7 separate regions of the Homo sapiens genome follow, and all the other regions are linked to region 2. Evidence: promoter capture Hi-C in human tissues and cell types (Jung and others, 2019). All regions are on one chromosome and are shown on one strand. The core of a region is centred on a gene start or on the middle of the fragment in contact, and the rest is flanking DNA. Distances in the headings are between cores, read along the strand shown.

Region 1 (2,945 bases), core at 83-2,582, 200 kb after region 2:
TATGGAGATAAAGAAATGCCAAAAGAGGCTAAGAGCTCAGGGAAGGATTGTGATGTAGGGGGCAAGGGAGGGGTAGGGCCACTGCTTTTCATAAGCTTTATCGAATTATTTGCTTTTAAAAACTGTGTATATTTATAGTTTTATTAAAAATAAAAAATTTTAAAGGTTATATGGCAAATATTATTTTATAAAAAATTGATGAACCTCAGGCCCTGAGCTCCCTTGCTTGCCCTGCTCCTGCCAGGGCAGACTTCCACTGCCCTTGCCCTCTGGTCCTCTCCACTTCAGAGGCCCGGCCTCTGGCTTGGTGAATCTGAGGCAGATCTTTCTCCTCAGGTTGCTTGAGCTCTGCAGCGTTAGGCCTGGTGAGCGCCTCTTGCCCAGTGCCCTGGGGGCGGTGGGGAAATTCCAGTCCAGACTGTCTGCCTCAGGCATTCAGTACACACTTTCGTGCCCTGCTTTTTAACTGAATAGTATTCTGCAAAGTGTTCGACCTTACCTAGTTTGAGAACATTATTTTTAGAAGGTTGCATGGTTTCCCATGTTGTGGATCTAGGTATCATTTATTGGATTATTCCCTTTTTGTTTATTTTTTCTGATTTTCCACTAATATCCATAATACGAGGTAAACACCCTTGTGCATAAATCCACAGCAGCTTCCTCTCTTTTGTAGGCAGTGTTCACACCTACAGAATTCCTGGGTCAGAGGACATGGACATTTAAAAGAGGCATAATGTGTAATTGCCAGGTTGATCTCAAAAGTGCAAGTTTGTACTTGAACAAGGCTGTACCAGAGTGCCTGTGCTGTTGTATCCTGACACACCAGGTACTGCATACGTCTCCATCTCGAAATGCAGAAGCACACTGAACACACATGGCTTAGCTCTTTAACAATAATGTCGTTTTCCCCCATGCTCATAAGCATTCTTGCATTATTGAAGATACTCTGCTTTTATGTCTGTGGGAGGAATTTTCCCCAGTTGAGTCGTGCACTTTTTCATCTGATCTGTAGCATTTTGGGTAGCTCGCTCAGTATTTTCCGTTGTGATGTCGTCTCTTATTGTGTTTACATTTAGAAAATCCTTTTCTTGGGATTTAATTAGGTGTATGTTCTTAGGTGAAGATCTAAGTTATTTTTTCTTATATTAGAAACACCATTTATTCAAAATACTTCATTTTTCTAATGATTCATGCTGCAACTTTTTATGTATGTGTACCACATATGAAAATATTGTGTATTTTAGTGTCTGTTTCTGAATTCTCTAATTGACCTCTTTGTTCTAGTGCTGGTACACTGTTTTAATTATTTTAGTTTCACGATATATTTCCATATCTGATAAAGGTAACCAATATTTCAAAAAATATTTTGGTTATTCTTGGCTACCTACTTTCTAAATGAACTTTAGAATGATTTTCAAGTTTAAAAAGTTAATCATATTGAGGTTTCTTTTCAAATGGATCAGATCTATAATTTAAATTATAAACAGCTGACATTTTAACAATATTTAAATAGTTTCCTATATAGAAAGGGAATCTGTCTTTCCATTTATTCTGTTATTAGCCTTCAGTTACATTTCATAGCTTTCTTGCTGTAGGTTTTATCTTTCAAATTTTTTTCCAACTAATTTGTGTTATTTGGTTATTGTAATTGGGATTTTTCCCATTGCATTTATCAAATATTTAACATTATATAGGAAAACTATCAGTTTTTATATATTTGAATGTGGTCACATGTTAAAATGGTTTTATTTGCAAAAGGGTTTTCAGGTGAAATTTGACTTATTTTTACCTTGACCCAACATTCACCATGAAGTATGCTCCCTGTAGCTCTCTGGTATATATTCTTCATTAAGCTACAGAAGTTTTCTTTTATTGCTATTTATTAAGTTACGTGTTTTTTAAAATCAAAAAAGTTGCATTTCACTAAATGTGTTCATTGCTACTATTTAGGTGGTTGTATGATTCCTGCTTTTGTCTCTCAATGGAGTGAATTCTGTTCCTGACATTCCAAGTGTTGATTCTTGGAATAAACCCCGTTAGGCCATAGCTCTTCCAATTATAATATGCTCCCAGTATCTTATTGGGACTAGAATAAGGGTTAATAATAGGGTTAGGGCTAGAGTTAAGGCTAGCATAAGGGTTGGAGTTACCGTTAGTGTTCGAGTTATTGTAAAGGTTAGGATTAGGGTTACTGTTAGGGTTATCGTGAGGGTTATGGCTAGGGTGATAGTGCTCTATAAGGTTCTTTTTTTTCTAATTTTTATATGATTTTGGCAATAAATGATAGCTTGCTTTCATAACATGATTTGAGAATTGTCCCATGTTTTTCTATCCTTTAAATAACAAATTTTTCTGTCTTCTGTTTAGAAATGCAAATGTTATCAGCCTTCGATAGAATTCTACCTTTAATAGAATTCGTCTATCAAAGCTGCTAAGCCTGGAGCCTATTTTGGAGACTGATTTTTTAGTGTCTATATAATTTCTACCATGGTTATTGATTTTATACACATTTTCTTATACACCAATGGTTTTTTGCTTAGGAAACAGTCAGTTTTAAGCAAGTTTTTAGGTATATAGGTAAAAATGTGTATATGTTTTATATATATATATACATATGTATGTATATAACATATATATGTTGTGCTCGTCATTTTTCAGTCTTTAAAAATTTTTAACTTAATTTAATTTTTCTTTTTATTATTTTTTTAGAGACAGAGCCACACTCTGTTGGATGTTGATCCCAGCTCACCGCAGCCTTGAACTCCTGGGCTCAAGCGATCCTTCCACCTCAGTCTCCCACGTAGCTGGGACTACAGGCATGTGCCAACGCATCCAGCTAATTTTTAAAATTTTTTTAGGCACTGGGGTCTTGCTTAGATGCTCAGGCTAGTCTCAAACTCCTTGGCCTCAAGTGATCTTCCTGCCACGTCCTCTCAAAGTGCTAG
Region 2 (2,839 bases), core at 16-2,515:
TAACTGTACTATCTGGAATTATAAAAATCCACCAAAGCCCCTTCGGAAAGAAAGCAATTAGCAATTGCAACAAGCAGTGCACAGGTGGCACCCAGGCAAAGGCGGCCAGTGAGATGCAGCCTGGCTCCCAGGCCTGGACAGGGCAGGCAGGTGCACTGGGCCAGAGGCACCTCGGCTCTGCTGATTGAATCTGGGCTGTGCGGGGATCCTCGGGTCTCCGTAGGGGGAGGCCACCTCTTTACAGGGCGGCCAACAGGCGCCTCCAAGGACTTTATCCCACCTTCCCTCTGGATGCATTCTGGATTTCGGGGCCAGCTTAGTTGGCCTGTGTCCTGAGGCCAGGCAGGCCAGACTCCCCAGGACAGGAGTTTCCGATGGACAGGACCCTAGGGGGATGGCTTTCCTGCTGTAGCGGTGTTGGAAGGACCCACTCGGGAAAGGCTCCAGCGGCTGTCCAGGCTCTCTCTGAGACGCCTCGGGATTGCTCCGCTGGATCCGCACCCACAGCTGCTCCAAGGGGAAGTTGCACCTACAAAGCTTCTGGCACAGGAGACAATGGTCTGGAGATGTGCCAGGGGCCCGCCCCACGCGTGGCTGGCAGGGTTCACCCACCGGCTGGCCCGTCCCGAAGCAACACGTGCCTGGGCGCGAACGCCGGATCCACGCTTTCCTCCAGACCCGGGGGTGGGACTTGGCGCCCCAGGATGACGCGGAGGGCAGGCTGGGGGCCGGGACTCCCCACCCCATTCGCAGGCTGCGGCGGAAAGCGAGCGGCGGGAAACCCGCTGCACAGCAACGGTTCTGCCAGGCGCCCGGGCCACCGCGACCCCCGCGGAGACCCCGGCCCACGCCCCGCACCCTCCCCAGGGCCCCCCAGACCCCAGGCTGCAGACCGCAGACCCCGGCCACGCCCCGCACCCTCCCCAGGGCCCCCCAGACCCCAGGCTGCAGACCGCAGACCCCGGCCCACGCCCCGCACCCTCCCCAGGGCCCCGCGGACCCCAGGCTGCAGACCGCAGACCCCGGCCCACGCCCCGCACCCTCCCCAGGGCCCCGCGGACCCCAGCGCCAGCCCCCACACTCACCTCACAGGGCCCTGCAAACCTCGGCCCGCGCCCCGCACTCACCCCAGGGCCCCGAGACACCCCGCAGCCCCCGACACGCGGCCCCGTGGCCCCGTTCCCCACCGGTACCTGCGACTCGGCGGGGCGGCTGCCCTGGGGCTCCCGGACCCGGCCCCGCGCACGCGGACTCCGGGACTACAGCGCCCACAAGGCGGCGCGGCGGGCGCGCGGCTGCGGGGTGGGCGGGTCCGTCCCGCCGAACGCGTCCTGAGGGCGGGGCCTCGCGCGTGGCCGGGCGCTGCGGCAGGAGCGTCCCCACGGGGCACCCTCCCACCCACGGCCGTCTCCCAGCCCCGGCGCCGGCCTCTCCCCACCCGGTCACCGCCGGGGTCACGCGGCCCCTCGTGCTGCGGCCCTACCCCTGGGGCCGCCCCCTGACCCCGACCGCCCCTCGGGCCCCCACCCCCGCCGGCGTCAGCATCCTGGGGTGCCACTCGCGGAGGTGTCGGTCCCTCGGGCGGGCACCCTGCCATCCCTCTCCCCCGCGTTCTTCCCACCCCCGGTCCCCTCCTGACCCCCCCTCCTCGACGAGGCCTTGTGCGTTTTCCTTTTGGCACCCTGGAACACCTGCATTCCTGGCCGCAAGCTGGATCCGGGACGCGGGTCGGGCCCACGCGCCCTCAGGGGTGGCCCTGGGCCGCCTTCGTGGGGCTCCAACAGGGACACGCACAGCCTGCTCTTGGGGACCGCACGGCCCCGAACTCGGCGCCCCCGGGACCCCGCCGCCCGCCCTCCTGCCTGACCGTGACCCGTACGGGCTTGTACCAAGGAGCAAGCCGGATCCAGGACGTGGCCCGGGGCCACCAGTCCCCATCCCAGCAGGGACAGCCCGGGGGAGACCCGCGCAGGCCTCGCAGACGGCAGCGCAGTCACACTCAGGAAGGGGGGCCTGGGCCACTCTCCCAGGAAGGCGTGGGGCTGCGGCAGACAGCACCGCCGAAAGCCCAAGGCCTGTGCAGGACACGGGGAGAAGTGGGGGGCCTCAGGGTCACTTTCCCCTGGAGTTACCCAGGGCCTGGCTATGGGGAGGGAAGCCAAGCCGAGGGCTGTGGGGGCCCCAAGGCTAAGGAGGAGCCAGGAAGTCCACTGCACAGAACAGAAGGGGACGGCCACCGTGGTACCCACAGCTCAAGAGTGCGGGTCCCAGGCGAGGGGTGAGTCTGGGGCAGCAGCCCCTGGAATGTACCCCTTCCGGAGTGTAGACAGCACAATCCGCGACCTGCCTCCTGGTGTTGCGGGGGTGCTCTTGGTCTCCCGCCCACCAGCAGGGCAACCCCACCAGGAAGCCAACACAGGGCCCTTGCCCTAAATGGCCGCCTGCCCAAAGCTCTGGCCTGGGCCTTCTTTCCAGAGTCCTGAGTGTAGCAAGCCACACGAACAAATCTCAAAGGAACTTAAAAAGGATTTGTTGGCTGGAAATGGGGGATCTGGGGTAGCTTGCAGAATTTAAGGGAACACTACAGGATGGAGCGCCTCACCTGGAGGGACCCCCTGCTTTGTGGGAGCCCTGGCTCTCTCCCCTGTACTGGCCTTCTCCACGGGTGGGCAGAACCTGGCCCTGCTGGAAGACAGGAGGGGCAACGCGGAGGAGGAGGGGCCCTTCCTTCCCTCCAGGCAGAGAGGAGCCAGCCATGGGGCCAGCTCGCCAGGGCAGCCTGCTCCCTTTACACGCAGGACAGGCCAGGAAGCCGAGGGGAAGTGGGGATGAACAGCAG
Region 3 (2,700 bases), core at 90-2,589, 230 kb before region 2:
TGGGAATGTAAATTAGTTCAACCATTGTGGAAGACAGTGTGGTGATTCCTCCAAGATTGAGAACCAGAAATACCATTTGAGAAGCTATCCCATAACTGGGTATATACCCAAAGGAATATAAATTATTATAAAGATACATGCACACGTATGTTCACTGCAGCACTATTCACAATAGCAAAGACATGGAATCAACCCAAATGCCCATCAGTGATAGACTGGATAAAGAAAATGTGGTACATATAGACCATGGAATACTATGCAGCTATAAAAAGGAACGAGATCACGTCCTTTGCAGGGACATGGATGAAGCTGAAAGCCATTATCCTCTGCAAACTAACAAAGGAACAGAAAACCAAACACCGCATGTTCACTTATAAGTGGGAGCTGAACAATGAAAACATACGGACACAGGGTGGAGAACAACACACACCAGGTCCTGTTGGGGGAGGGTGGGGGTGGAGAGCATTAGGGAAAAGAGCTAATGTGTGCTGGGCTTCATACCTAGGTGATGGGTTGATAGGTGCGGCAAACCACCATGGGACATGTTTACCCATGTAACACACCTGCACATATACACCGGAACTTAAAAAGATATTAGAGGAGAACACGGACCTTAGAATAGCAACTCTCCCAAACAAAGACGCAGCCCCACGTGGAGCAGAGGAGGAGAAGATAAAGTGGACTGCAGCAGAAGCTAACACAACTTTATCACCAAAGACCCCAGAAACCAAGTCAGAAGGCCAGTGGTGGACATGGGAATGATAGATGCTAAAGAATGCTCAGCTTATAGTAGCCAGAGAAAATCCTGGCAAAGGTGGAAAGTGTGAAGGCACCAGGCATCAGTGGCACGCGAGTGTGATCTCCGGAGGCGGGGGAGGTGGGGGAGGCCGGGGCGTGAGGGGCTGTGGTTATCAAAGGGAACCGGCTCTCTTAGGGGGGCTCTTTTACTTTCTCTGTTACTCAGAGCAGGGACCAGCCAGCTCTGTCGAGGCCTGGAAAGTAATGGATTTAAGCTTTGCGGCCACATGGTCCGTGCACCCACTCTGCTCTGTCCATGTTTTTCTTTGTATTTTTCTCCAAGCATTTAAACACGTGCAAACCATCCTTAGCCCAAATGCAGCCAAAAGCTCCTGTGGGTGGAGTTTACTGTCTTACGCCCGGGAGCGGCTCAAAGTGTGCCCCAACCAGCAGCCTGGGCACCCTTGGTGCTGTAGGAATGCAGGTGCCCTGGCCCACCCGGACCCTGGTGTGGGGGGGGGGCCCACCCAGGCCTCTAAGAAGCCGTCTAAGGGTGCCGCCCAGGTCTTTGAGAAGGGCAGCCTTGGCCAAATGGTCATACCTGTACACGGGCCGGGCCGCACGACTTCTTTAGAGCTGGGGCCAATGGAAGCCCCCTGAGTGCTCCTCAACAGGGGCCTGGAACCCCGGCTCTTGTTAAAATGCAGATTCTGACTCAGCAGGTCTGGGCTGGAGCCTGGGACTCTGCATTTCTACCCAGCGCCCAGGGGTGCCCAGGCTGCTTCTGGGACCTCACTTCCTGGCCGTGGTACCTTCACAGCACCAGCCACTAGCGTGGAACTTGCACTGCAGCTTCCGACAGCTGCAGAAATGGGCATGTAGGTGGGGTGGGGGCTGGGACCTGAGCTTGTTGTCTGTCCCTCCCTTTCTCACTGGGGCATTGAGGACACACATGAAAGAGGCGAGGGGGCGAGAAACAATGCTGGCATCTCCATCCTGGGAAGAGGCTGGGAAGAGTGACTCAGTCACAAAAAATAAACAACACCAGCTTTTGTCTTAGAAATTCACCCTGTTTGACTTCATGGATTCCCATCGGTCTGCAAGGACCCGGGTTAGCCTGGGATCCTCTTCTGTGGCTTTGGTGAGCAGATCCCCACTCCGCCTCCTCTTAGGACGCCTAGTCCTGCCGTGATTGGCCTTGGGGGCCCGGGGGTGACCTCAAGTGTCCCCAGCCAGGCCGCCCACCCCAATCTCAAGAAGAAACAGGGTGGGAGGAAGCAGGGCAATCTCAGCACCCATGGCAGAGGAGGCCACGGTGGAGGAGGCCACGCCTGGCTCAGCCTGGAGTTGGGGACGTGAGGAGGGGCTGAGACGGTCACCCCAAGACCCCCACTTCAGGCCAGCTCAGAGGGTCCAGGGTGGGGGTACTTGGGAGAAGGCTTGTGAGGGGGTCCCTGTGGCCTTCAGGGAATCCCACCCCATTTGGATGTTACCTCCAGGCTGGTCCTAGGGGCTGGGCACCCACAGGCCAGAGGCCAAGGAACCAGGAAGTGCCCCCCGACATGCGCTTGGGGAGCCCCAAGCTCCTCCACTCATGAAAAATCGAACCCCCCCACCACCTCCAGGTCAGTCACCGTCTCCAGGACGTGGGTGGCTGCCCCCACTCCTCTGGCCCCCACTTCTCTGGCTGAGAAACTCCACGTGCACCACCCCAGGGGCTTCAGGCTCCTCCAGAGGGGCTCCATTCCCCTTCCTGCCCCGTCCCCTGATGTTCCTTCCCCACCAAGCCCTGGGCCATCTTCCCACAGCCTGGGACTAGCCTTCTGGTCACCTGCAGTGGCTGCCAGGTGGGCTGGGGTGGGGGCTGTCCCTGGGTGCCCAGGCCTCTCGGGGACCCCTGCATGCACTGGGCATGACATGGAGGGTGCCTTTCCCCACCCAGGGCCCAATGAACCTGGAGGT
Region 4 (2,973 bases), core at 122-2,621, 180 kb after region 2:
CAAATTGGGAAATGTGAGTCTTCTGACTTTGTTTTTCTTTTTTAAGATTGTTTTGGCTATTCTGAGTCCCTTGAGTTTTCATATGAATTTTAGAATCAGCTTGTCAATTTCTGTCAGAAAGTTGGCTGGGATTTTTATAGAGATTGCATTGAATTTGTAGATTAGTTTAGGACATATTGCCATCTTAATAATATTACATTGAACATAGGATGTTTTTCTATTTATTTAGGTTTTGTTTAATTCCTTTCCCTTTCTTGTAGTTTTTGGTGTATAAGTCTTGCATTTTTAAAAAATTAAATCTATTCCTAAGTTTTTTATTATTTTTGCTGCTATTACGAATGGATTTTTTAAAATTTTATTTTTGGATTGTTCATTGCTAGTGTACAGAAATACAATTACTTTTTGTATATTGATCCCTGCCACCTTGTTGAACTTTATTATACTAGTTTTTTAGTGGATTTCTTAGTATTTTCTATATACAATATCATGTCATCTCCAAATAGAGATATTTGTATTTTTCCTTTTCAGTCTGGATGCCCTGTATTTCTTTTTCTTGCCTAATTGTCCTGGCTAAAACCTCCAATACAGCGTTGATTGTACTGGCAAGGGCAGGCATCCTTGTCCTGTTTCTCATCTTAGGGGAAAAGCTTTCAATCTTTTACTATTGTTCATGATGTTAGCTGCGAGTTTTTCATAGATATCCATTATTAAGTTAATAAAGCTTCCTTTTATTCCTAGTTTTTTTGAGTGTTTTTATCATTAGATATATTGAAATTTGTCAAATGCTTTTTCTGTGTCTACTGAGATGATCATGTGGTTTTTGTCCTTTATTCCATTAATATGATGTATTGCATTGATCGATTTTTGGATATTAAGCCAACTTTGCATTTTGGGGATAAACCCCACTTGATTATAGTGTGTAATCTTTTTTATATATTGTTAGATTTGGTTTGCTAATATTTTTGTTGTGATGTTTTACATGTGTATTCATAAGAGACATTGGTCTTTGGTTTTCTCTTGATGTCTTTGTTTGGGTTTGGTATTGGGCTAATACTGGCCTCATAAAATGAGTTGGGAAGTATCCTTTTCTTGTCTGTAATTTTGAAAGAGTTTGTGAGGGGTTGTTGTTAATTCTTACTTAAATGTTTGGCAGAATACGGTAGTAATGCCATCTGATCCTGGACTTTTCCTTGTGGAAAGTTTTTTGGTTACTAAACCTCTTCACTTGTTTTAGGTTTGTTCAGATTTCTCTTTTATCTAGAGTCAGTTTCTGTAGTTTCTGTGTGTTTCTAGGAATTTGTTCATCTAGGCTTTTTGTTGATATAAAATTGTTTATAGTATTTTCTTATAATCCTTTTTATTTCTGCAAGGTTGGTTGTGATGTCTCCTCTTTCATTCCTAATTTTAATAATTTGAGTCTTCTCTCCTTTTTTTTTTTTGCTAGTCTAGGTGAAGATTTGTCAATTTTTTGATCTTTTCAAGAAACTAACTTTTGGTTTTGTTTTCTATTCTGTTTAATTTCTATTTAATTTCTATTTCTATTTAGTTTCTTGTTGCCATAGTATTTGTTGTTTCCTTCCTTCTGCTTGCTTTGGGTTTAGTTTTCTCTTGTTTTACTAATTTCTTAAGATGGAAGTTTAGGTTATCGAATTGAGATCTTGCCTCTTTTTTAAAGGTAGGTGTTTACAGCTTCGAAAGACTCCTGTCCTGTTCTGCCGCTTCCATGCCAGCCAGGCTGCTGGTTCTCATTGATTGCTGGGCTCTTGGTTTTCAAGGCTTGGATGCAGCTCGGGGGAAGGGGATGGAAGTAGGGTAAGTTAAAATGCCACAATGCTCACTGTTCTTACCAAGGTCCAGTTGTTTTTCTTGAATCAGTGATCCTTGGATTGCTGCAAGCCTTTGATGAATTTCCAGAGCTCTTAAAAAGTTAATTGTGACAATTTTGCCAGGGTTCTCATTGCTTTTATGGAGAGGTAAGCTGTTAGTGGTTATTACTCTGCCATTCTCACAGATGCCATCTGCGTCCTATGTTTTATAATGAACACTTTTCAAAAAATGAATGTGATTGCCACAGGATATTTTATGAAAATTGATGAATGGCTTCTAAATGTCACAAGGGGATAAAAGCATAAGACTGGCCAACAGTTTGGAAAAGAACAGCAGTGGAGAGCTGCCTATTCATCTGATATCAAGATGCTCTGTAAAATAAAGGAGTGGAAACAGTGTGGGACTTGTGCTAAGCAGGGCCAAGCAGCAAATCTAGAGCCCAGCTAATGGGACGGGAGGTCAGTGTGTGAGAAATTTCCGTCTTGGGTTAACCCTGGCCTGGCTGAATTCGGGGAACAAGCCATGTTGTGTGATTAGCTCAGCTGTATCTGGCTGACCGTTCGTAATCCTCACCCTGCAATAAGGTTGGCTTTACCTCAGAATTAGAGCTGAGGCAGTTTGGGAAGGGGCTTCTCAGTGGATGCGAGTGACTTGGGGCCGCTCTTGGGGATGAAGGACAGAACAGCAAGTGTTCTCAGGGAGGCTAGAGGGGCCATCACTGAGAGAGTTAAAAGAAGACAACTGAGGAACTGAGAAGTGAGAACAAGCCATACCCGGTGGCAGGAAATGTGTGCAGAGGGTTTTTAGTGTGTCTTCTCCAAGACATACTGATATGGTTAGGCTTTGTGTCCTCACTCAGATCTCATCTTGAATTGTAATCTCCATTACCCAAAATCCACACATGTCAAGGGCAGGACCAGGTGGAGGTAACTGGATCATGGGGGTGATTTTCCCCATGCTGTTCTCGTGATAGTGAGTGAGTCTCACGAGATCTGATGGTTTTATAAGCATCTGGCACTTCTCCATCCTGCCACTCTGTTAAGAAGGTGCCTGCTTCTCCTTTGCCTTCTGCCGTGATTGTAAGTTTCCTGAGGCCTCCCCAGCATTGTGGAACTGTGAGTCAATTAAACTTCTTTTCTTTATAAA
Region 5 (2,700 bases), core at 71-2,570, 140 kb before region 2:
GTCATAATCCTTTACATTGATTTCCTTCCTCACAGTGCACCGCAAGCACTCAGGGAAGGACTCCAGGTTTGAAGGCAGATGCTGGTCGGGACCCGACCAGGTGGCTGGGCGGGAAGAGGTGAGATCGGGCAGGATTGGGCCTGGGAAGGCTGAGGCAGGCAGGGATGATGCCAGCAGAGGAGAATCCCAAGCAGGCCCCGCGGCTGCGGCTGGAGAGCTCCAGGGGCGGAGAGGAGGTGGGAGGCAGCAGTCAGGTTGGGAGGACCCTGGCAAGCAAGCCCAGAGAGGAGGGCCGGGAGGGCCGGGCACTAGAAGTGTGAAGTCACTGCTGCCTCCTGGGGCTGCTTCAGAGGATGGGTGGGGCCACGTGTGGGGAGATCAGGGAGACTGGAGACTACGCTGTTTGGTCCAGGCATAGGAGATGAGCCCTGGCCGGGAAGGGACAGTGTGGATGGGCCAGGCGGAATCAGAGGGTTTCAGAGAAAGCCGTCAAGCCAGTGCCATGAGTTTCGCGCACACGAGGAGGGAGCAGGCTGGGGGGTGTTGCTGGTGTGAGGGCTCTCTGGTTGCAGGGAGCGGTCCGGTCGGGTGGGGGCACAGCTGCCAGGAGGAAAGCGCCCAGGGCCTGCAGGTGGGGCTCAGGATGCTGGCCCTGAAGAAATAGAAACAGGGTTTTCACCTGGGAGGGAGGAGGAGCCTGGGAACTGGGGAGGAAGAGGCTCTGCTGGGCCGCGCCCTGGGAACAGGGGGACCTGGGGACAGATCTGGCCCTCGCACGCCCCTCCTGTCTCGCGTCCGTCCCTCCGTGCAGCCGGGGCAGGACCCTGCAGGGGCCTTGCGGGCCGGAGGTGCCGGCTTCCTCCTCCGTCCCGTCCCCCCCGCGGTGACTCTATTCAAATCTCCCCCCTTCCCGCTGCCCCACCGGACTCAGGGGCTGGGGTCGTAGCCCGGCGGGCAGCGGTGTTCACCTTCCGCATAAACCTGGGCTTCCTCGCGGGGCAGCCCCCGGGCCCTGTGCTGGGTCGCAGCCTCGGGCGGTTCCCTCGGGGCGGGACGTGTCCCCGTCCGTCCTCGCCCGTCCCCGCCGCCCCCGGGTCCCGGCCCGCCCCGTCCTCGCAGCCGCAGGTCCGCTGCGGCGCCCGCCCCCCTCTCCCCTCCCCGGGCCTTGCCCTGCTCGTCGCTCCGCCCCCTGCCCGGCCCCTGCCCGGCCCCGCCCCGCGCCCGCCCCCTGCCCGCGCCCGCCCCGCCCCCTGCCCGGCCCCTGCCCGGCCCCTGCCCGCCCCCTGCCCGGCCTCCCAGCGGCGGCGGCTGCAGCGCGGCGGTCCGAGCGGGTGCACCGCGGCGGAGGAGGCAGCATCCCGCGGCGCTGACGGTCCTGGGGAGAGCATGGCGCCGAGGTGAGGCCGGGGCTGCGGGCAGGGGTTGGGGGACGCCAAGATGCGGCTGCGGGGGTCGCGGGGGTCGCGGGGCTCGGCCGGGTCCTGCGGGGGTCGCGGGGGTCCTGCGGGGTCTGACCCGTGCCTGTCCCGCGCAGGTGCCCCTGGCCATGGCCGCGGCGGCGGCGCCTCCTGGACGTGCTCGCGCCCCTGGTCCTGCTGCTCGGGGTCCGCGCGGCCTCCGCGGAGCCAGGTAAGACCCGGGCGGGACGGGAAGGTTCGCGCCGGTGCCCGCCGGCCTCGCCGCCCTGGCTGGGGTCCCCGCCCGGCTCCCTCACCCCCGCCCCGGCCGCTCTGGGTTCAGCCCCGGCCCTGCCCACGCGCGCAGGAGGCGCCGGAGCCGGACGGAGCGGGGCGGGGTGGCCGGAGTCCCGCCCATTCATTCTCCCCGCGGGGTCCGGGCCGGGAGGGGTGCGCGGTGCGAGCGGCCGGAGTCCCCGCGCGGGGACCGAACCTCCGCGGCCGGCGGGGTCGTCGGTGCCGGGAGGGCTCGGGGCGGGGCCGCGGGGTCTCGGGAGACGCGGCCTCTGTCGCCGTCACGGCCTCGTCCCCGCAGCGCCGGGTCCCGGGACTGACCGCGGGCGGAAGGCGGCGGAGCGCGGGGCGTCGTCTCCGCGTTTCCAACCTGTTGAGGCTCCTCGCCGCGGGCCGGGCCTTGTGCGCCTCTGTCCCCGCCGCCCTCAGGCCTCTGTCCCCGCGCCCGCCGTGGTGTCGGGTTGCGCGGTCCCCTTTGATGCCAACCGAGCGCCGCGCGGTCCGAGAACAATGCCCAGAAGCCGCTGCCCCGCCGGCCTCGCCGCTTCCCGTGCGCGGCAAACGGTGCGCGGGGCCCGTGGGGACCTTCCTGCCTCCAACCCCGGGACCCAGTTCCCCACCACCTGCTAACCGGGGCCTCCTGCCTCCAGCCAGCCCAGCAGAGGCCCGGGGGAGGCGGCGGGGACGCGGACCCCAGGGGAGCCCCGCCCAAAGGGCCTGGGTGCCTTGTCGCGGGTGGAATCCCACCCGGGGGTCCACGCAGCCAGCGCCTGCCTCCGACTCGACTCCACACCTGCTTGCTACAGCGGGTGAGGAAGCAGGAAAGGGGGAGGGAGGGATGTCGTCTGGATTCCTGTAATAATTTGTTTCATTGTTTCCAATCGACTTAGTCACCAGGTTAAATAGTAGCATAGACCTTTCAAAAAAGTAGCTAGCTTATAAGTAGATGTATTGAAAACACCTGCTTGTTGAGTCGTAGACAATTCCTCATTTACTGTGTGAACTCTAG
Region 6 (2,967 bases), core at 427-2,926, 150 kb after region 2:
TAAATTTTCCCTACTCAAATTACTTCTGTAATTATTGTCTCCTGACTAGAACCTGGTACATAAGGCCACTTGATTTTTAGCAAAGGCACCACCTACAATTAAGCACGAAAAGAATGGTCTTTTCCAGCCAGGTGCGTTGGCTCACGTGTGTAATCCCAGCACTTTGGGAGGCCGAGGCAGGTGGGTCACGAGGTCAGGAGTTCGAGACCAGCCTGGCCAACATGGTGAAATCCCGTCTCTACTAAAAATACAAAAATTAGCCTGACGTGGTGGCACACACCTGTAATTCCAGCCACTCAGGAGGCTGAGGCAGGAGAATCACTTGAACCCAGGAGGCGGAGGTTGCAGTGAGCCGAGATCGCGCCACTGCACTCCAGCCTGGGTAACTAGAGCAAGACTCTGTCTCAAAAAAAAAAAAAAAAAAAAAAAAAAAGGTCTTTTCAATAAATGGAAGTAGAGTAACTGGACATACATACGGAAAACATGAACTTGGACTCCGTCTCACACCAGCCACACTTGGATTGGACCTAAGTGTTAAAGGAATATAGTAACGCTGCTAGAGGAAAATATGGAAGAATATTTTCTTCATGGCTTCAGGGTAAACAAATTTTTCTTAAACCAGACTCAATAAGCCCTACCTATAAAAGAAACAGTTGAGAAGTTGGACTTTATTAAAAATAAGAACTTTTGTTTATCAGAAGACCATTAAGTGAGAGAAATGTGAAAAACGGCATGCACCAAGAAAAGATGTTTGCAATACATATATTAACCAAAAGATTTGTCTCCAGAATGTATGAAAACGACTGCAAGTTAATTTTTTAAAAAAGGCAATCAACAGGCTGGGTGCGGTGGTTCATGCCTGTAATCCCAGCACTTTGGGAGGCAGAGGTGGGTGGATCATGAGGTCAAGAGATCGAGACCATCCTGGCCAACATCGTGGAACCCCATCTCTACTGAAAATACAAAAATTAGCTGGGCATGGTGGCGCACGCCTGTAGTCCCAGCTGCTTGGGAGGCTGAGGCAGGAGAATTGCTTGAACCCGGGAGGCAGAGGTTGCAGTGAGCCGAGATTGCGCCATTGCATTCCAGCCTGGCCACAGAGCAAGACTCTGTCTCAAGAAAAAAAAAAAAGGCAACCAACAAAAAATGGGCAAGAGCCTTGAGCAGACACTTCACAAAAGGGGACATTGAAATGTCCAGTAACTTATAAAGAAGTACTCAGTGCTGTCAGTGATCCAGAAAGTACAGATTAAAACCACAGTGAGGTACCACAATAGCCTTTAGAAAGGCAGGTGTGAAAAAGACAGAAAATGGCAAGTGCTGGTGAGGATGTGGAACAACTGAATTCTTATATGCTGCTGGTTGATTGTGACCTGCTTTGACCACTTTGAAAATATGTCTGGCAAGTATCTACTTAAAATAAACCTACACCAACCATATGACACACTAGTCTTCCTTCTGGATATATGTGCAAGAGAAATATGCACATATGTTGGCCAAATGATATCTATAAGAAATTTCCTAGAAGCTTTATGCCTAATAGTGAAACACTGGAAACATCCCGAATGCCTGTCAGCAGTTCAACTGTTTTAGTTAAACAAACAAGCAAATTATGGAACATATGTACATTGGAATACCACATGGCATAAAAAATTACTCTAAATACTCTAAATATCTTTCTAAATTTATGCTCCAGCACAAACTTGTGGAGAATACACTCACTAATAATTTAATTTTTAAAAACTTTTCCATCTTAATCATACAAACCACTTAAAAAATATCACAAAGTTGCCAGATGCTATGGCTCATACCTGCAGTTCCAGCACTTTGGGAGGCTGAGGCAGGAGGATTGCTTGAGTCTGGGAGTTTGAGACCAGCCTAGACAACATAGTGAGATATCACCTCTACAAAAAATTTAAGAATTAGCCGGGTGTAGGTGTGCACACCTGTGGTCCAAGCTACTCGGAAGGCTGAGATGGGAGGATTGCTCGAGCCTGGCCGGTGAAGGCTGCAGTGAGCCATGATCATGACACTGCACTCCACTGCACTCCAGCCTGGGCAACAGAGGGAGACCCTGTCTCAAAAAAAAAAAAAAAAATTACAAAGGAATTATTCTCCTACTTATCTTATTAATAAGACAGAGACAGAACATGTAGCCATGGCTCATTTTTGAATCAGCTGTGTCCTACTAGTTTCCAGAAAGTCCAGAAGACTTCTCCTCTGTTGTGTGAGCCTCATAAGTGGCCAGGGGTAGATATCACACAGGCTGAAACATCTCAGTCATCAGACACCAGATGCTGAGTCCCCATCTGGCCCATCCACCTTCCCTACACACTACTTCCCATGCACCTTATCCTGTTGTCTCACCTGGGCTTCACAATTTAGTCCCTGGGAGATGTGAAAAACAACTTTTTTCTATTTTACAAGTTAGAAAACAGGAGTCTAGGGAATAAAATAATAATAACTCTCCCTTACTGCAACATCCCTATGTGCCAGGCCTGTTCCACAGACTCTCCAAGATTAGGCTGAGGTACCATCCTCTTGGGGCTCCTTCCCCTTCTCCAAAGTGCCCACCTCTCTGACACTCCACATTGTTTGTGGAGTGTGTGCTCTTCTCTGATTATGCATACCTGACACTGTATGGCATTGAAGACATTTGTGTTCATGCATTAGCCTCCCATTATGGGGGACACATGCTTCTTGAGGATGGGGGCTGTCGCCCACCAAGCAGCTACCAGGACAGGGCTTTTCAATAAATAATTTGTTGGGCTGAATTTCTAGCATCACGTCTCAGAGCCTCAGCCTAGCAGGGCTCTCTTGGGGAGAAGGGATCTGGGGATCATCTGATGAAAGCAAGGACCAGCATGTGACATAGAGGAAAAGAAAGAGCAGTCTACGTGAGGTCTCTGGTCTGGTGCAGTGACAGCACTCATTCCAGAAGAGCTCTTGGCCAGGAATGTGGGAGCC
Region 7 (2,796 bases), core at 160-2,659, 230 kb after region 2:
GCAGGTACTACTTTGATATACTGATTTTATTTCCTTTGGGTAGATACCCAGTAGTGGGATTGCTTGATTTAATGGTAATTTTATTTTTAGTTTTTTTGAAAAATCTCTGTACTGTTTTCCATAGTGGCTGTACTCGTTTACATTCCCACCAATGATATATAAGTATTTTCTTTTTCCTGCATCCTCACCAACACCTGTTATTTTTTTATTATGGCCATTCTATTTTTAATAACAGCCATTCTGAATGGTTCAAGATGACATCTCATTGTGGTTTTGATTTGCGTTTCTCTGGTGATTAATTATGTTGAACATTTTTTTCACATACTTCTTGGCTGTTTGTGTGTCTTCTTTTAAGAAATGTCTATTAAGGTCCTTTGTTCACTTTTTAGTGGGACTATTTGTTTTTTTCCCTTTTGATTGAGTTCCCTTTATATTCTGGATGTTAGTCCTCTGTCAGAAGAATAATTTGCAAATATTTTCTCCCTATTCAACAGGTTGTCTTTTCACTCTGCTGATTGTTTTCTTTGCTGTGCAGAAGCTTTTTAATTTAATATAGTTCCATTTGTCTATTTTTGTTTTTGTTGCCTATGCTTTTGCGGTCTTAGTCATAAATTCTTTGCCTAGACCAATGTCCGGGAGAGTTTTCCCTAGGTTTTCTTCTAGTATTTTTATAGTTCCATGTCTTACATTTAAGTATTTTTATAGTTTCAGGTCTTACAGTTAAGTATTTTTATAGTTTCAGGTCTTACATTTTAAGTATTTAATCCATTTTGAATTGATTTTTGTGTATGGTGAGAGATAAGGTCGAATTTTATTCTTCTGCATGTGGCTATCCAATTTTTTCCACCACCGTTTATTGAAGAGGGTGTCCTTTTCCCCCAGTGTAAGTTCTTGTCAGCTTTGTTGAAGATTATGTTGAACATTTTTTCACATACTTCTTGGCTGTTTGTGTGTCTTCTTTTAAGAAATGTCTATTCATGTCCTTTGTTCACTTTTTAATGGGACTATTAAACCAGAAGCTTTGTGGTTTTATTTCTGGGTTCTCTATTCTGCTCCAGTGACCTCTGTGTCTATTTTTATATAAGTGCCATACTGTTCTGGTTACTGTACCCTTGTTATATATTTTGAAGTCAGATAATGTAATGCCTCCAGCTTTGTTCTTTTTGCTCAGGATTGCTTTAGCTATTTGTGCCCTTTTTTGGTTCCATATGGATTTTAGAATTTTTTTTTCTAATTCTGTGAATGAGGTTGGTATTTTGATAGGGCTTGCATTGAATCTGTAGATTGCTTTGGGCAATATGGTCATTTTAATGATATTAATTCTTCGTATCCACGAACATGGGATGCTTTTCCATTTGTGTCATCTTCAATTTCTTTCATCAGCACTTTGTAGTTTTCCTTATAGAAATCTTTCCTTTCCTTGGTTAAATTTATTCCTAGGTATTTTGTGTAGCTGTTGTAAATGTGATTGTCTTCTTGATTTCTTTCTTGACTAGATCACTATTGGTGTGTGGAAATGCTGCTGATTTTGTATGTTGATTTTGTATCCTGCAACTTACTGAATTCATTTATCGCATCTAAAAGTTTTATGGGGCCGGGCGTGGTGGCTCACACCTGTAATCCTAGCACTTTGGGAAGCTGAAGTGGGCAGATCACAAGGTCAAGAGATTGAGATCATCCTGGCCAACATGGTGAAACTCCATATCTACTAAAAAAAAATGCAAAAATTAGCTGGGCGTGGTGGTGCGTGCCTGTAATCCCAGCTACTCGGGAGGCTGAGGCAGGAGAGTCCCTTGAACCTGTGAACCGAGATTGCGCCACTGCACTCCAGCCTGGCGACAGAGCAAGACTCCATCTCAAAAAAAAAAAAAAGAAAAAAAAGTCTTTTTGGTGGAGACTTTAGTTTTTTCTGGATAAAATTATATCATCAGCAAAGAAGGACAATTTGACTTCCTCTTTTTCAACTTGGTTTCCTTTTATTTATTTCTCTTTCCTGGCTGCTCTGGCTAGGACTTCCAGTATTATGTTGAATAGGAGTGGTGAAAGTACGTATCTTTATCTTCTTCTAATTCTTAGAGAGAACACTCTTAGCTTTTCTCTAGTATTATGTTGGTTGTGGCTTTGTCATATATGGCTTCATTATTTTGAGGTATGTTACCACTATGCTTAGTTTGTTGAGAGTTTTTATCATGAGGAGATGTTGAATTTTATCAAATGCATTTTTGCATTTATTGAGATGGCCATATGGTTTTTATCACTCACTCTGTTATGTGATATATCATGTTTATTGATTTCTGTATGTTAAACCATACTTGTATTCCTGGTATAAATCTCACTTGATTATGGTGTATTATTTTTCTGATGTGCTGTTGGATTTGGTTTGCTAACATTTTGTTGAGCATTATTGTGTCTGTGTTCATCAGGGATATTGGCCTGTAGTTTTATTTTGTTGTATTCTTGTCTGGTTTTGGTGTCAGGGTAATGCTGCCCTTGTAGAATGAATTAGGAAGATTTCCCTTCTCTTTGATATTTTGGAGTAGTTTCTGGAGGATTAGTATTAGTTTTTCTTTGTACTTTTGGTAGAATTCTGCTGTGAATTCACCTGGACCTGGACTTTTCTGTATTGGGAGGCTTTTACTACTGATTCAGTCTCACTATTCCTTATTAGTCTGTTCAGGATTTTTATTTCCTCCTGACTCAGTCTTGGCAGGTTGTATACTTCCAGGAGTTTATCCATTTCTTCCAGGTTTTCTAGTTTGTGAGTATATAGCTTTTTTTTTTATAATAGTCTCTGAT

What was found. The method cuts DNA at HindIII sites, captures the fragments that hold promoters and counts their contacts. A contact is called where the count stands out against the background at its distance.
Region 1: a fragment that was not itself captured here is called in contact with the fragment with the promoter of SLC19A1 in region 2 in 1 of the 25 tissues and cell types used here (aorta).
Region 3: a fragment that was not itself captured here is called in contact with the fragment with the promoter of SLC19A1 in region 2 in 4 of the 25 tissues and cell types used here (H1 embryonic stem cells, dorsolateral prefrontal cortex, mesendoderm cells and 1 more).
Region 4: a fragment that was not itself captured here is called in contact with the fragment with the promoter of SLC19A1 in region 2 in 2 of the 25 tissues and cell types used here (lymphoblastoid cells and mesendoderm cells).
Region 5: the fragment with the promoter of COL18A1 here is called in contact with the fragment with the promoter of SLC19A1 in region 2 in 2 of the 25 tissues and cell types used here (adrenal gland and thymus).
Region 6: a contact is called between a fragment that was not itself captured here and the fragment with the promoter of SLC19A1 in region 2, in 1 of the 25 tissues and cell types used here (H1 embryonic stem cells).
Region 7: a contact is called between a fragment that was not itself captured here and the fragment with the promoter of SLC19A1 in region 2, in 4 of the 25 tissues and cell types used here (IMR-90 fibroblasts, dorsolateral prefrontal cortex, lymphoblastoid cells and 1 more).

The regions. Positions count from the first base shown.
Region 1 is chr21:45,741,522-45,744,466 of GRCh38, forward strand. The region is part of intron 3 of PCBP3 (poly(rC) binding protein 3); the gene reads left to right. Among named protein-coding and RNA genes, the nearest start is that of PCBP3-AS1, 93 kb to the right of the region's middle. The HindIII fragment of the contact is 8,727 bases long and covers 1-2,945 here.
Region 2 is chr21:45,541,175-45,544,013 of GRCh38, forward strand. SLC19A1 (solute carrier family 19 member 1) reads right to left here and starts at 1,266. Exons shown (of 6, transcript NM_194255.4): 1 at 1,194-1,266. RefSeq lists silencers at 700-759, 1,110-1,419, 1,460-1,539 and an enhancer at 1,394-1,906. The HindIII fragment of the contact is 13,138 bases long and covers 1-2,839 here.
Region 3 is chr21:45,315,966-45,318,665 of GRCh38, forward strand. No RefSeq gene overlaps it. Among named protein-coding and RNA genes, the nearest start is that of LINC00316, 25 kb to the right of the region's middle. RefSeq lists an enhancer at 2,559-2,700. The HindIII fragment of the contact is 7,844 bases long and covers 1-2,700 here.
Region 4 is chr21:45,716,781-45,719,753 of GRCh38, forward strand. All of the region lies in intron 2 of PCBP3 (poly(rC) binding protein 3), which reads left to right. Among named protein-coding and RNA genes, the nearest start is that of PCBP3, 75 kb to the left of the region's middle. The HindIII fragment of the contact is 3,124 bases long and covers 1-2,933 here.
Region 5 is chr21:45,403,845-45,406,544 of GRCh38, forward strand. COL18A1 (collagen type XVIII alpha 1 chain) reads left to right here and starts at 1,321. Exons shown (of 42, transcript NM_001379500.1): 1 at 1,321-1,397; 2 at 1,535-1,629. The coding sequence starts at 1,387. BNAT1 (breast cancer associated ESR1 regulating natural antisense transcript 1) reads right to left here and starts at 2,518. Exons shown (of 2, transcript NR_183526.1): 1 at 2,323-2,518; 2 at 1-652. RefSeq lists an enhancer at 476-1,176. The HindIII fragment of the contact is 38,297 bases long and covers 1-2,700 here.
Region 6 is chr21:45,695,674-45,698,640 of GRCh38, forward strand. All of the region lies in intron 2 of PCBP3 (poly(rC) binding protein 3), which reads left to right. Among named protein-coding and RNA genes, the nearest start is that of PCBP3, 53 kb to the left of the region's middle. The HindIII fragment of the contact is 5,398 bases long and covers 1-2,967 here.
Region 7 is chr21:45,772,531-45,775,326 of GRCh38, forward strand. The region is part of intron 4 of PCBP3 (poly(rC) binding protein 3); the gene reads left to right. Among named protein-coding and RNA genes, the nearest start is that of PCBP3-AS1, 62 kb to the right of the region's middle. The HindIII fragment of the contact is 3,374 bases long and covers 1-2,796 here.